4 separate regions of the Homo sapiens genome follow, and regions 2, 3 and 4 are each linked to region 1. The links are contacts of gene promoters, found by promoter capture Hi-C in blood cells and fetal thymus (Javierre and others, 2016). All regions are on one chromosome and are shown on one strand. Each heading gives the region's core, a stretch centred on a gene start or on the middle of the fragment in contact. The rest is flanking DNA. Distances are from core to core; before and after follow the strand shown. Region 1 holds the start of GOSR2 (golgi SNAP receptor complex member 2). Region 2 holds the start of MRPL10 (mitochondrial ribosomal protein L10). Region 3 overlaps NPEPPS (aminopeptidase puromycin sensitive). Region 4 overlaps KPNB1-DT (KPNB1 divergent transcript).

Region 1 (3,449 bases), core at 767-3,266:
ATAGCCCACAGAGCCTAAAATATTTACTATCTGGCCCTTAATAGAAAAAACTGGCAAGCTGCTAGAGTCCAAGGGTGCATTGTTGGAGGCCTACAGAGCATCTACACTCCACACACCTTGTTTGGGGTACCATTTAGAATTCCTCTTCTGAGCCATGCAGTTTTCTCTGTGATTAGCTGCACTGAAAACAGGTAGTCTAAGACTCTCTAAATAAAGTTATTCTTGAATATAAAATGGGTCATGGCCTTCTTGGCAACATCCTTTAACTAAATTAACTAGATAAGACCATACATAACAGATTAACTTCAAGGCACTACTATGCCCATTGTGCCCTGCTATTGTGAAAGATAGGCCCTTTCTTAGTAACATGAACATAATTTCGTTTCATTCTTTCTCTAAATTACTCACAGACTAGTTTTAAGTCCCTTCCTATAACGTTTATGTGAGAATAGGGCTCCCCAGTGTAAAAGAAAATTCTGTCATTACAAAGTAGGTTCTGTATTTTCGCCTGTCCAAATGAAACACCTCATCGCCAAAATAAAAGAAACCCATAAACTTAGAAAATGAAAGAGAAAGAGGATCATCACCCTCTTATTCCTCATGCTTCAGGGCATTTCATTTCCAGGCCTTGGGAGTGTGATTTTAAGTGTTTTAATCAACAAAACTACAGCATAAGTTTGAAAGTTCTCAATAGGATAGGTATATACCTCAAAAAATTGAGAAGAGAAACTAAAACAGATACTTCTACACCAGAGTTCATAGCAGTATTATTCTCAACAGCCCAATGGTGGAAACAACTCAAGTGTCCATCAACAGATGAATGGATAACAAAATGTGGTAGACACATAAAACGGAATATTATTCCGTCATAAAACAGAATGAAATTCTGGTAACAGGCTACAATATAGATGAACCCTGAAAACATTAAGTGAAATAAGCCAGATACAAAAGGACAAATTCTGTATGACTCCACTTATATTAAGTATCTAGAATAGGTAAACTCATAGAGAGAAGTAAAACAGAGGTTACTAGGTGTTCTGGAAGGAAGAAATGAAGTGCTACTGATTAACAGGCACACTGGGATGATGAAAAAGTTCTGGAAATGGATCGTAGTGATGTAAGTTGTGAATGTACTCAATGTCACTGAATTGTACACTTAAAAATTGTTAAAACAGTAAATCTTATGTTGTGTATATTTTACAATAAAAAATAAAAATCATAAAATTCCGTCCCTCCAAAACAGGGTAAAAATCATAATTCTGCCCCCCGCCCCCAAAAATAGGGTAAGTATGGCCCCATTAATACTCAACTACGTATCTCAGCAATTCCGAAAGTGCAGGACGATGCGAATAAAGGACACTACCAAGGAATTTAAGTTATGAGAAACTAAATTACAATTTGATTTTCTTAGCGATAACCTGTAACCAGATACGATTAACAAGTAATAATAGTGAATGCTACGTGGACAGCAATTTCTTTGTACCATAAAAATGTGGTCTTTAGTATAAATCGAATAAGAATACAAATACTTTCCCGTACGTGCCCTGACTCTCCAATTAAACAGTACACTCCTACGGCCAGGGGCCGTGTCTCCTACTCCGTGTCTCCTCTCGAGGTCTACCAACCAGGAGCACCGAGTTGACAAGTGCTGGACAAAGTTTTATAACCTGCAGGTGCCAGTTTCCCGTCACCCAGTCTACCCAGCAGGTAGTCACGAACTTGCAGACCCCAGGAGTCATCTGCCCCACGTCTCCAGGCCCCAGCCTGAACCCACTGTCTGTGGCTGACCTGGGAGTCCCGCCAAGGATTAAGCACTTCGGAGGCATCCCCAGCAGTGCCCTGGCGGAAAAACTCGGCCTCTACCCTGGCTGACGTCCGAGGCCTCAGCCCCAGAAGCCAGGCTCACCTGGCCTCGCCTCGTCTAGCCCCTGCCCGCTCCCCGACCGGCCCTCACTTGTGCGTTTGCTGGAACAGGGGATCCATGTCGCCGGCCCCGCAGGCCACGGCTCCGGCTCTGGCTTCCTCGGAACACGTCCTCACAGCCCCCCTTCCGGTTTCCGGCTTCCGGTCGCAGGACCCTCCCTCCCCTGCCGGCCAGGGCTGCCCGCACGCGCGCCTTACTAGCAGTGGTTGCGAGATCGGAGAAGGGGAAGGAGAAATGAGGCCGGCGACGGAAGGATAAGTGTAGTCACAGGCTCGGCTTCACGTGAAGGGCAAGGCGGTGTACATGTTCGCTGAAGGCTAGCCTCAGGATTCAGTCAGGCGTTAGGAAGGACAATCGCGGGATACTAACGAGAGGTCCTCAGAGCAAAGTTGAAGGCGAGCCGCTATCATCTGCTGTTCTCTGCCGCAGAGAGGACTGGAGGTTCTTGCTTGGCTTCACTTTAAACCATTTAATCGGGGGTCTGGAGATTTCGCTCTTCACTGTTTTTCCTGGCGCAAGCTTTTCCTGTTTCGCATTTGTCTACTCACTCTCCCGCCTATCTACCCCCCATTCCTATTTATCCATCCAGTAAACCTACATTGAATGAGTGGTTATTATGTGTCATGTGTAAAGTAGGGAAAACCGGGTTCCTCCTGCCCTCAAAGAGGTTCTGGTCTGGGAAAGGAAATAAGATATGTATACTCTCAAAAGACAAAATTACAAGAAATGTAGTTATAGATTTTTTTTCTTTATTTTATTATTTTTTATTATTATACTTTAAGTTCTAGGGTACATGTGCACAACGTGCAGGGTTGTTACATATGTATACATGTGCCATGTTGGTGTGCTGCACCCATTAACTCGTCATTTACATTAGGTATATCTCCTAATGCTATCCCTTCCCCCTCTCCCCACCCCACAACAGGCCCCGAAGTGTGATGTCCCCCTTCCTGTGTCCAAGTGTTCTCATCGTTCAGTTCCCACCTATGAGTGAGAACATGTAATGTTTGTTTTTTTGTCCTTGCGATAGTTTGCTGAGAATGTTGGTTTCCAGCTTCATCCGTGTCCCTACAAAGGACATGAACTCATCATTTTTTATGGCTGCATAGTATTCCATGGTGTATATATGCCACATTTTCTTAATCCAGTCTGTCATTGTTGGACATTTGGGTTGGTTCCAGGTCTTTGCTATTGTGAATAGTGCTGCAATAAACATACATGTAAATGTGTCTTTATAGCAGCATGATTTATAATCCTTTGGGTATATACCCAGTAATGGGATGGCTGGGTCAAATGGTATTTCTAGTTCTAGATCCCTGAGAAATCTCCACACTGTCTTCCACAATGGTTGAACCAGTTAACAGTCCCACCAACAGTGTAAAAGTGTTCTTATTTCTCCACATCCTCTCCAGCAGCTGTTGTTTCCTGACTTTTTAATGGTCGCCATTCTAACTGGTGTGAGATGGTATCTCATTGTGGTTTTGATTTGCATTTCTCTGATGGCCAGTGATGATGAGCATTTTTT
Region 2 (3,390 bases), core at 646-3,145, 910 kb before region 1:
AAACATCTATGACAAGTGGATAACAGAGGCAAGTACAGGGGAAAGGAAGAAGGAGGAGGAAGAAGGGAAAGAAGGAGGAAGAGGAAGAAGAAAGAAAGAAAGAAAGAATAAGGCCAAACATCCCTGACAAGTGGATAACAGAAGCAAGTACAGGGGACAAAGGGAGTACATAGGCTGTGCACTAAATTCACAGTAGGAGGAATCAGGGAATGCTTCCTAGAGGAGGTGACAGATGAGTAGGCATTAGCCATGAAGGTGGGGGGATATGGGGAGAAGGCATTTCAAGCAGAAGGAATAGTACATGCTAATACAGCCCTTCCGAAACTCCAATATGCCCATGCAGATTCTAATTCAGTAGATCGGGTGGAGGGGCTGAGATGCTCCACTTCTAACAAGCCCCCTGTGATGCCAATGCTGCTGTCCTACCCCTGCACCCCCTCCCATCCACACATACTCTGAGTAGTAAGGTACTAAGGTGTGAGTACACAGTGTGGGAAATTGTACACTTGTGGAGAGTGGCCAGAAATAAGGCTGAAAAGCAGAAGTCAACTCATGCTTAGGCATTGGGATTTATTTGGGAGGAAGTTTCTATCAGTGAATGCCTGATTAGATTTGTTATTTAAAAGGATCACTTTGGCTACTCAGGAGGCTGAAGTGGGAGGATTGTTTGAGGAGTTCAAGACCAGTCTGGCCAACAGAGCAAGACCCCATCTCTAAAAAAGTAATTAAAAATACTTTACTTTTTGTTTGTTTTAGAAATAGGGTCTCACCCTGTTGCCCAGGCTGGCATGCAATGGCATGATCATAGCTTACTGCAGCCACAGGTACCTGGGTTCAAGTGATCCTCCTGTCTCAGCCACCTAGGACTACAGGTGTGCACCACCATGCTCAGCTAGTTTATTTTTATTTTTTAGAGATAGGATTCTGTCTCTATTGCCCAGGCTGGTCTCAAACTCCTGGGCTCAAGTGATCCTCCTGCCTCAGCCTCCCAAAGTGGTGGGTGTGTAGGAGAGAGGTGAACACGGCCTTATCTAAGACAGTTGAGTGAGGATGGTGAAAAAGAAATGGAATTATTTTGAAGAAGGGAAAATCAGCTGGGCATTACCACTGATTGAATGTGTGGAGTAAGGAGAGAAACAAAGATCAGTTGACAAATCAGTACACGTCAGGGACCTGGTCATCCTGAGTGTTTCAGCCTTCTAGCACCCCTTTTCTCCCCCATGCACTCACATCTTCTCTGACAGTTCCCCATCTTCAGGGAAAGTCAAGTTCCGCTTAGTGATAAGGGCTTCAGTGATGCAGACGCCCCCTTCCTCTGGACCCTGGGCTGACTTCCCTGTGAAAAGATGAGTCCAACTGTGACACTTCCTCACTCTTGGAGGCCTTACCCCGCTGTTTTCCAACTGCTCTACCCACCGTCCCACCTCCCTACTCACCTCCAGACATGATCTAAAATAAAAGGCTGCTGGTCTGAGGCGGGAGAGGAACGAAAAGAGAGGTCTTGGCGGCCCCTAAGGATGGCAGAACTCAGGATGGCAGGAGGAGAGAGAAACTCAGAGACTTAGGAGAGGAGGAAAGGGGGTTGATTCAGAGAAAATTGCTGGGGTGAGGTCGAAGAAAACAGTAAATTGATGTGAAGGGTCTGGAGTTTGAGGGGTGTGGAGGGGCTTTGCTGGCAGCAAGCTGGGGTGTTGTGGGCAGGAATGGTTGAGAAAGGAGCAGTTCCTAGGAAGCCGGAGTCGTTGCTAAGAGACTGGACGCCGAGTGGGGAGGTAAAGGCGGGCTCCGTTGGCCCGGCCTAGCGCATGCGTCTTACGGCTACAGCCGGCGGGTACGCCCACTGCTTCCGGCCCCGGGGTTCGCTACCCCACAATCCTTAGCTCTTTCCGTCTCCACTCGGCTTCCGTCCATTCTTCCGGTGGAGATGGCTGCGGCCGTGGCGGGGATGCTGCGAGGGGGTCTCCTGCCCCAGGCGGGTAAGGAGTGGCCCAGGTCCTCACGGCGTGTCTTGCGGCCGCTCTCTAGTCCTCATCTGCCCTCCTCTACTACTGATTCTTCCCATAATCTCTGACCCCAGCTAGATCGCTGGCCTCCTTACCCCGTCCAGTTCCTTGTGACTCGACTGGTAATCACAGCAACAACGTCCAGATGTTGTCTGTCTCCAGCGTTTCTTTTGCCTGGACCACTCCTCGCCCAGACCTTTGCATTATGTCTCCATCTTAATGTGTCAGTCTAAATGTCACCTCAGGTCTTCCCTTGACTCCTTAGCCCCGTCGCAATCTGTAATTTTGCATTTGTTTAGTTGCTTGTTTCCTCTATTAAACTCCGCAAGGGCAGAACCATGTTCATTCAGCATAGCCAGCAGGTGGCATGGTGCTGGATGTTAGTAAGCGTGCGGTAGATATTTGTTTAGTGAATGGATTTGAGCACTTAATATAGGCCAGGCACTGTGATAACTATTTTTATATGTGTTAGCTCATTTAAATCTTTTAAATCATTTAAATCTAAAGCACCCTGTGAGAAAGACATTCGCATCTCCTCTTTACAGACGCAGCAACTGAAGTTCAGACCAGTTGGGTGGCCAAGGTCACAGCTAGTAATTGGCGGAAGAGAGATTAAAATCCAGTTTCGGCTGGGCGCGGTGGCTCACGCTTGTAATCCCAGCACTTTGGGAGGCTGAGGCGGAGGGAACACCTGAGGTCAAGAATTTGAGACCAGCTTGGCCAACATGGCGAAACCCCAACTCTACTAAAAATACAAAAATGAGCCGGGTGTGGTGGCGCGTGCCTGTAGTCCCCGCTACTCAGGAGGCTGAGGCGTGAGAATCGCTTACACCCAGGAGGCAGAGGTTGCAGTGGGCCGAGATCGCATTGCTGCACTCCAGCCTGGGCAACAGAGCGAGACTCCATCTCAAAAAAAAAAAAAATCCAGTTTAATTTGATTCCAAAGCCTGCCTGCAGTCTTAACAGTTAGGTTTTGTGGCTGCTGGCAATAAGACCTCTTACCCCAGCAAATATCCATACTCTCTGACTGTTAGAGCCGCCTTCTATCTGGACCTTTTTCTGAGGTCACATCCCAGTCTTGGAAATGACTGAAAGTGGGAAGTTCTAGTCTTGGCCCTTGTGTTGAGGATTAAGTGGTCACTTTGTCTCAGGGCTTTTGAGTGCCTCCCTTGTTTTCTGTGGGGTGCTCTGTAGCATTATCTGTAAACAGGAAGAGAGGAGGAAAGAGAAACTTGTCTGAGAGCTGTGAGAATGGTGTAACATTTTTTTCTCCTCTTCAAATCATAGGACAGGGTGTCAGAGCAGCGGTTAGAGTGGTGGTTTTCAAACTTTAGCATGCGTCAGCATCACCAGGAGGGCTTGTTAGAACACTATTTGTGACCCGTCT
Region 3 (3,524 bases), core at 862-3,361, 700 kb before region 1:
GAGTACTCTGACCATCTCTTCCTTATATCTTCTCATCTTCTTTGGATATTAATAATTGGATAAACAGAAGCTGAAGTCAGAGGGCAAGGGAGCCATTCATGCTGCAGTCCATGTGGGTCAGCACCCGCTGGGGTCCAGAGTGGGATGAAGAGGGGTTCTGAAAGGCAAATGGAAGACATCTAGTATAACCTCTCCCTGAACGTAATTCAAACTACTTAACTATTATTACAGACAAAAATCACATGTATGCTGAAAGTAAAATAACCTGTTTCCAGAATTTCTGATTGCAAAATTCTGAGTTCTTCAATTAAACCTGCATTTTTCTCAGTCTTTTTGGTGCCCCTGCTTCACTGGTGCCTTAAGAACATTTGAGAGCCTAAGGGCAGCCCTGAGCATGGTGCCTGAACTAGGGTGCCTCAAAACTAGGGACTGAGGAAGTCTCAAGTTCATTCCTGAATGCTGACTATAAGAGTCTCTGAGAGAGTTTTGAGAATGTAGAACTGATTTAGAATGAATCTCAGGATTTTTCTGTTAAGATCTATAAATTAGGAATTAAGGAACTGGATTTTTTTTGAATTTGAAAAATCCTATGATAGTATAACTTTGCATAAGCCTACTGAATGATAGGAAAGTTTTTAGTTTCTTATCAAAGAAAGAGAATAAAGTGAATCAGGACATCAGTTTCACATTGACATTTTTATTAACGCCAACTGTTTTTTAATTATTTTTTTAAAACAATAGCACAAAAATGTTTCAAGGAAGCAGTCTCACAATCTGATGACCTTCTGAAATACCGTTAAGCCACACCAAATATGAATTTCTGTTAATAACACAAAATATTTTTTTAAGAAAAAAAGAAAAAAAAGGTAGGGAAAGAAGAAGGGAATGAGATTTAGATTTAAAACTCATTGGATTAAATAGGTGAGGCTTATTAGGATATACTGTTGAAGCAAACAGTGGCACACACAGGCTTACAGTCTTTGTTTTTTAAACCAGTTACCACTAATGTATTAAGCCCTGCAGCAGTTACCACTGACTTCTCGCACGCATAAAATGAACCGGGAGAAGCCAGTGTTGATACTGTTGTGAAGAGGTTCAAGAGCTGGCTTTTCAGACAACTAAGACCATTTTTAGCAGAATAACTCCTTCAGAAAGGCCTGGCTGAAGATCTTTTTATTTCTATTGTCTCACCTATATAAATTTCAGGGTTCTTATAAGTCATCTTTAAAAAGAAAAAAATAATGTATATCAGTTTCTCTTATTTAATGTGGCTATGAAAGATGTTTCCTTATTATTTCTTCATCTCTAAGAAGGACACCAGGGAATGGGGGTTGGGGGTGGAACTAAAGGGAGGAAAAAAACCAGAACAGGGTAGGTTTTTGTTTTTTGCTTTTTGTTTTTTTTTGGCCAAGGGGTCGGTCACACAGAAGGGAAGGCAAGGAGGAAAACTAAACTACAATCCTTGGTTCAGATTGAGTTATGCAGGAATATATCTTCCTGATCAGTCCCCGTGCCAAAAAAAAAAAAAGCCACTTGGAATTATGCACTGACTCCAACTATGTGATACCAGCTATCAGCCTTTTGTGTTTAACCATTCCCAGAAATGGACACCACCCTTGGCTTTATAGGCTCCTTGCAGAACCCACTTCACAAAAATGCTCTTCACCAAGAAGCCTCTAGTTTCCTTTTGGTAGGTTATAAAAACAGAACATCTGTCATTAACAGTAGAGTGTTAAATACTTTTAACCACTGACAAGGCTTCAGAAAGTTTCACAGTTTCGTTATGCTCTATTTTATTACTATCATATTTACATTTTTATTTTTTATTTATTTTTTGCTGAATTGCTGATTTTCCTTTTTCAATAGAATTTAATTCTGGAGTGTGAGCAGGAACCAGTTAACTACATTCATTGTCCAACCCCCACTGGTTTGAAAGAAGACTCCAAATTCTTGGCATATGAATCAGCTGTTCGGTAGCTCCACCTTATCCCTGCAGCGAAGCAGCAGAACCGCCAATGGCGGCACCTCAGGATTCACACTGTGGGTGGTGAGGCCTTCCGCTGAAGGAGGTACTGGTGGATGCTCTCAGCATCTCGCTTTAGCCAGGCAGCATTCAGCAGAATATTTTCACAACACTGCTGGATGGTACGCTCAGCTGAAGGAGCTGGGTGACTCTCGAAGAAAGCCTGGTATAAAACAACCCAGAATGCAGGATCATTACTAGCAATAAGAAGTTAATATTACAGGTTATGAAAAAATACCCACTGGTCTATATGAAGGATGCATAATCTTCAGGCATGAGAATTTACCACTGCCACCCTCAGGCTAAAAGAAAACAAGCAACTCCTTGGACCTGCATATAGGAATTCTCCCCTTAATTATATGCTTAACAACCTAATCAAAAGTTAATAAAGAGACAGAACCTACTGCCTTTCTTTTAGGCTAATTGTGTAGTGGTAAATATAGTCTTTGGAATGAAGACTTGGAACCTGAATCCAGGCTTAGTCATGTACTAGCTTGTGACTGTGAGAAAATTAACTGCTCTAAGTCTCAGTTTTCTCAACTATGAGAAAATATCTACTCCAGAAGATTAAAGAGACAATCCATATAAACATTTGACAAAATACCTAGCACAGAGTACTTAAGGATTCAACACATTTTGGCTGCTTCAAATAAAGATTAATTTGTAAGGGATGATAATACAAAGAAGTTTAAATTGCTGCTATGCCCTAATAATTTAACACCCCATGGTCTTTTTTTTTTTTTTTTTTTTGAGACAGGGTCTCACTCTGTTGCCCAGGCTAGAGTGCAATGAAACGATCATGGCTCATCACAGCCTCAACCTTCTGGGCTCAAGTAAACCTCCCACCTTAACTTCCTGGGTAGCTGGGACCACAAGCGTGCACTCCCAGGCCAAATTGTTTTTTCCTTTTTGTAGAGATGGGGTCCTACCATGTTGCCCAGACTGGTCTTGAACTCTTGAACTCAAGCAATCCTCCCACCTCAGCCTCCCAAAATGCTGGAATTACAGGAATCCAACATTTTTAATACAGTAAACCAAACAATTTCTAAGTTTACAATTTATCACAATGCTTAATGATTAAAAGTTGAATAAACTTTTCTAATGCAGTACACCTGGTTTCACAGAAAACAAAGCAACTCTTAAACACCAGCTGGCAAAATGATAGGGCTTTTCCTTTGAATTAGTCACCACAGGTGTGAAAGACAGAATGACTAATCCATCTGATTAAACATAGACCTTTTAGAAATCAATAACCTTATTTACACAGATGACAATTGCTACTGTTCCAAGGCTCCTAATCATGGTTCAGTTCTCAGGGCCTCAAGTCTTTTTCCATTCCATCGCAGAGTAGTACCAACATTTATACACCAGAAACCTGGGGATTATCCTGGCTTGTTTTTCTTCCTCTCCCAGATATGCTCACAACAGAGAAGCCAATCAATAAATATTGTTGAACTAAATGGTTAACAAATTCAAGCCCCTGAATCTCCATTATTCCATC
Region 4 (3,511 bases), core at 401-2,900, 720 kb before region 1:
CAAGCAGTCCACCTGACTCAGCCTCCTAAGTGCTGAGATTACAGGCGTGAGTTACTGCGCCCAGATGCTTTCTTCTTTCTCAGATTATCAAAGAAATATATGTTCCTCACTGTAGGAATTTTGAAAAGGAATTCCGCAGAAACCACCTGCAACCTCAAATTATATCCACCATTAAAATATTGGCATATTTTCCCCAAAATGGTTCTATTTTAAATGGAAACCAAAATATTCCTATGTATCATTTCTTGTTGACTCCAAAAAATGTACTTTTAATGATTTTATTTATTTATTTATTTATTGAGACTGGATCTTGCTCTGTTGCCCAGGCTGAAATGCAATGGCATGATCTTGGCTCACTGCAGCCTCAACCTCCCGGGCTCAAACAGTCCTCCTCCCTTAGCCTCCCAAAAAGCTGGGACTACAGGTGTGAGCCACTGCACCTGGCTAATTTTGTTCATTTTTTTGTAGAGACAGGGTCTCCCTATGTTGCCCAGACAGGTCTTAAACTCCTGGACTCAAGTGATCCTCCTGCCTCTGCCTCCCAAGATGCTGGGATTATAGACATGAGCCACCTTGCTCCGCCCTTTTAAGAATTTTAAATTGACTCAACTCTTTATCAAGTTGCATTGAAAAGATAATATGAATTAAACATATGTGAACTGGCCCCAGTACATTTTCACACTGGTAGTGCAATGCAGAAGTGAAGCCTTTTAACTTTGACTTAACCTTTAAAAAAGGTACCTACTGATAGAATAAGCTAAAAGTTGCAAATCGTTGAAGTATGTCCACTGGGTCCCAAAACTGGAAGTTCACTGAGGCCTGTCTTCCTGGCCAGGTGTCACAGGGAATCCTGTACTCTGGCCCAGGGCTATTCTATCTTTTCTGTTTTTTTTTTTATATGTATAATTGCATAATGCTCTATTTTGATTGTCTGCCTTGTACAATTTGTATGTATGCATGTATCTTTTGTCCTGAGTTAGACTATGACTCAGGGTTTCTCAACCTTGATTATTTTGGACAACATAATTCTTTTTTTTGTGGGTGTTGGGGGGCGGTGGTGGCAGAGAGCAGAGTCTCACTCTTGTTCAGACTGGAGTGCCATGGCGTGATCTTGGCTCACTGTGACCTCTGCCTCCCAGTAGCTGGGTAACCTCCTGAGTAGCTGGGATTACAGGCATGCACCACCACACATGGCTAATTTTTGTATTTTTTGTAGAGACGGGGTTTTGCTGTGTTGCCCAGGCTTGTATCGAACTCCTGGCCTCAAGTGATCCACCCGCTTCGGTTTCCCAAAGTGCTGGGATTATAGGCATGAGCCACTGTGCCTGCCCTCACATAATTACCTTTGGGGAAGCTGTCCTGTTCATTTCAGAATGTTTAGCAGCATTTCTGGCCCCTGCCTACTAAGTTCCACTGGCTCGTCTCCCACCAAGTCATGGTGGGACAATCAAAAATGTCTCCAGATGTTACAGAATAACTCCTAGGAAGGGAGTGAATCCCTGCTAAATCCTCCCCACAATTGAGAACCACATTTATAGCTCCTCAAGGTTAGAAGCCATGTCATATAAATTCCTGTGTTTCCTGCCTAGCACATAGTAAGCATTTTTATTGTCCAAACAATATCATTGCTTCATGAAAATAATAGCTTTTTTTTTTTTTTTTGAGACCGACTTTCGCTCTTGTTTCCCGGGCTGGAGTGCAATGGCACGATCTTGGCTCACCGCAACCTCCGCCTCCTGCGTTCAAGCGGTTCTTCTGCCTCAGCCTCCCGAGTAGCTGAGATTACAGGCATGTGCCACCATGCCCAGCTAATTTTTTTGTGTTTTTAGTAGAGACGCGGTTTCTCCATGTTGGTCAGGCTGGTCTCGAACTCCTGACCTCAGGTGATCCACCTGCCTCGGCCTCCCAAAGTGCTGGGATTACAGGCGTGAGCCACTGCACACGGCCCTTTTTTTTTTTTTTTTTTTTTTTTTGAGACAGCATCTTGCTCTGTCACCCAGGCTGGAGTGCAGTGATGTGATCCCACTGTAGCCTTGAACTTCCCGCTTAAGTGATCCTCCCACCTCAGCCTCCTCAGTAGCTGGGACTACAGGTGTGTGCCACCACACCTGGCTAATTTTTGGGGTGTGTTGGGGGGTATTTTTTGTAGAAATGGGGTTTTGTCATGTTGCCCGGGCTGGTCTCAAACTCCTGGGCTTAAGTGAACCTCCCACCTCCCAAAGTGCTAGTATTATAGGTATGAGCCACTGCACCCAGCCTGATGTTTTTAAAACACTTACTCTTTGTATTGTTCAAGGCTCTTTACATATAGTAACTCATTTAATCCTCCCAGCAACCCTCCAAAATAGGTACTCCTATTGTGCCTTTTTTACAGTCAAGAAACTAAGGCTTGGCCAGGTGCGGTGGCTCATGCCTGTAATCCCAGCACTTTGGGAGGCCGAGGCGGCGAGGCGGGTGGATCATGAGGTCAGGAGTTCAAGACCAGCCTGGCCAAGACGATGAAACCCCGTCTCTACGAGAAAATACAAAAAAATTAGCCGGGCATGGTGGTGGACACCTGTAATCCCAGCTACTCGGGAGGCTGAGGCAGGAGAATTGCTTGAACCAAGGAGGTGGAGGTTGCAGTGAGCCAAGATCGCGCCACTGCACTCCAGCCTGGGCGACAGAACGAGACTCCCTCTCAAAAAAAAGACAAAAAACGAAAAAGGAAACTAAGGCTCAAAGAGTTTAGGTTAGTTGCTTAAGGTCACCCAGCTGAGAGAAGTGACACCTGGGATCTGAATACTACTAGCCCAGGTAGTCTGGCTACAGATTCTGGGCTGTCAACCATTTTGCTGTATACTGCTTCTAAATACAAAGAAAAGAATTAACTCATGACAGTGCTTTCAAAAAGCCTCATGTTATCCATCTGCCCACAAAATTTGCATAGACAAACATATGGTAAAAATAAAATTTCCTGGCCAGGCACAGTGGCTCACGCCTGTAATCCTAGCACTTTGGGAGGCTGAGGCGGGTGGATCACCTGAGGTCGGGAATTCAAGACCATCCTGACCAACATGGAAAAACCCCGACTCTATTAAAAATACAAAATTAGCTGGGCATGGTGTTGCATGCCTGTAATCCCAGCTACTTGGGAGGCTGAGGCAGAAAAATCGCTTGAACCTGGGAGGTGGAGGTTGTGGTGACCCAAGATTGCGCCATTGCTTCCAGCCTGGGCAACAAGAGTGAAACTCCATCTCAAAAAAAATAAAAAATAAAAATAAATAAATAAAATTTCCTATTCTGCCACAAAACATGATACAGTATAGCAAAGCATGTTGCTGTGTTGCTGAAATTTTCTAAGTTTGAATGGCTGCATCCTAGTCTATCAAGAGGATAAACAATAAACTAATGTAACCAGTCCCTTGTTATTGGGCATATGGGTTGTTGCTGATATTTATTTGAAACATAACTGTTTTTGAAATATAATTTACATGCAGAAAGTGCACCAATTTTAAGAGTACAGTTTGGT

What was found. Contacts are between HindIII fragments. The CHiCAGO score rates a contact against its expected background, and 5 or more counts as called.
Region 2: the fragment with the promoter of MRPL10 here is called in contact with the fragment with the promoter of GOSR2 in region 1 in 4 of 17 cell types (total CD4 T cells, total B cells, erythroblasts and 1 more); the score reaches 7.0 in total CD4 T cells.
Region 3: a fragment that was not itself captured here is called in contact with the fragment with the promoter of GOSR2 in region 1 in 3 of 17 cell types (naive B cells, naive CD4 T cells and total B cells); the score reaches 9.4 in naive B cells.
Region 4: a fragment that was not itself captured here is called in contact with the fragment with the promoter of GOSR2 in region 1 in 1 of 17 cell types (naive B cells); the score reaches 6.0 in naive B cells.

Annotation. Positions count from the first base shown.
Region 1 is chr17:46,921,727-46,925,175 of GRCh38, reverse strand. It overlaps GOSR2 (golgi SNAP receptor complex member 2), which reads right to left and starts at 2,016. Exons shown (of 6, transcript NM_004287.5): 1 at 1,955-2,016. The coding sequence starts at 1,983. GOSR2-DT (GOSR2 divergent transcript) reads left to right here and starts at 2,305. Exons shown (of 3, transcript NR_186460.1): 1 at 2,305-2,365. It also overlaps a transcript of LRRC37A2 not described here. RefSeq lists an enhancer at 1,316-2,040. The HindIII fragment of the contact is 7,846 bases long and covers 1-2,445 here.
Region 2 is chr17:47,830,046-47,833,435 of GRCh38, reverse strand. MRPL10 (mitochondrial ribosomal protein L10) reads left to right here and starts at 1,895. Exons shown (of 5, transcript NM_145255.4): 1 at 1,895-1,976. The coding sequence starts at 1,925. It overlaps LRRC46 (leucine rich repeat containing 46), which reads right to left and starts at 1,766. Exons shown (of 8, transcript NM_033413.4): 1 at 1,437-1,766; 2 at 1,231-1,336. The coding sequence starts at 1,446. RefSeq lists silencers at 1,730-1,889, 2,130-2,189 and enhancers at 1,652-2,481, 2,482-3,313. The HindIII fragment of the contact is 9,003 bases long and covers 1-3,390 here.
Region 3 is chr17:47,620,430-47,623,953 of GRCh38, reverse strand. NPEPPS (aminopeptidase puromycin sensitive) reads right to left here. Exons shown (of 23, transcript NM_006310.4): 23 at 678-2,186. The coding sequence ends at 2,034. KPNB1-DT (KPNB1 divergent transcript) reads left to right here. Exons shown (of 4, transcript NR_171700.1): 4 at 1,867-2,427. Among named protein-coding and RNA genes, the nearest start is that of KPNB1-DT, 27 kb to the left of the region's middle. The HindIII fragment of the contact is 6,563 bases long and covers 1-3,524 here.
Region 4 is chr17:47,640,806-47,644,316 of GRCh38, reverse strand. All of the region lies in intron 1 of KPNB1-DT (KPNB1 divergent transcript), which reads left to right. Among named protein-coding and RNA genes, the nearest start is that of KPNB1-DT, 6.9 kb to the left of the region's middle. The HindIII fragment of the contact is 5,052 bases long and covers 1-3,511 here.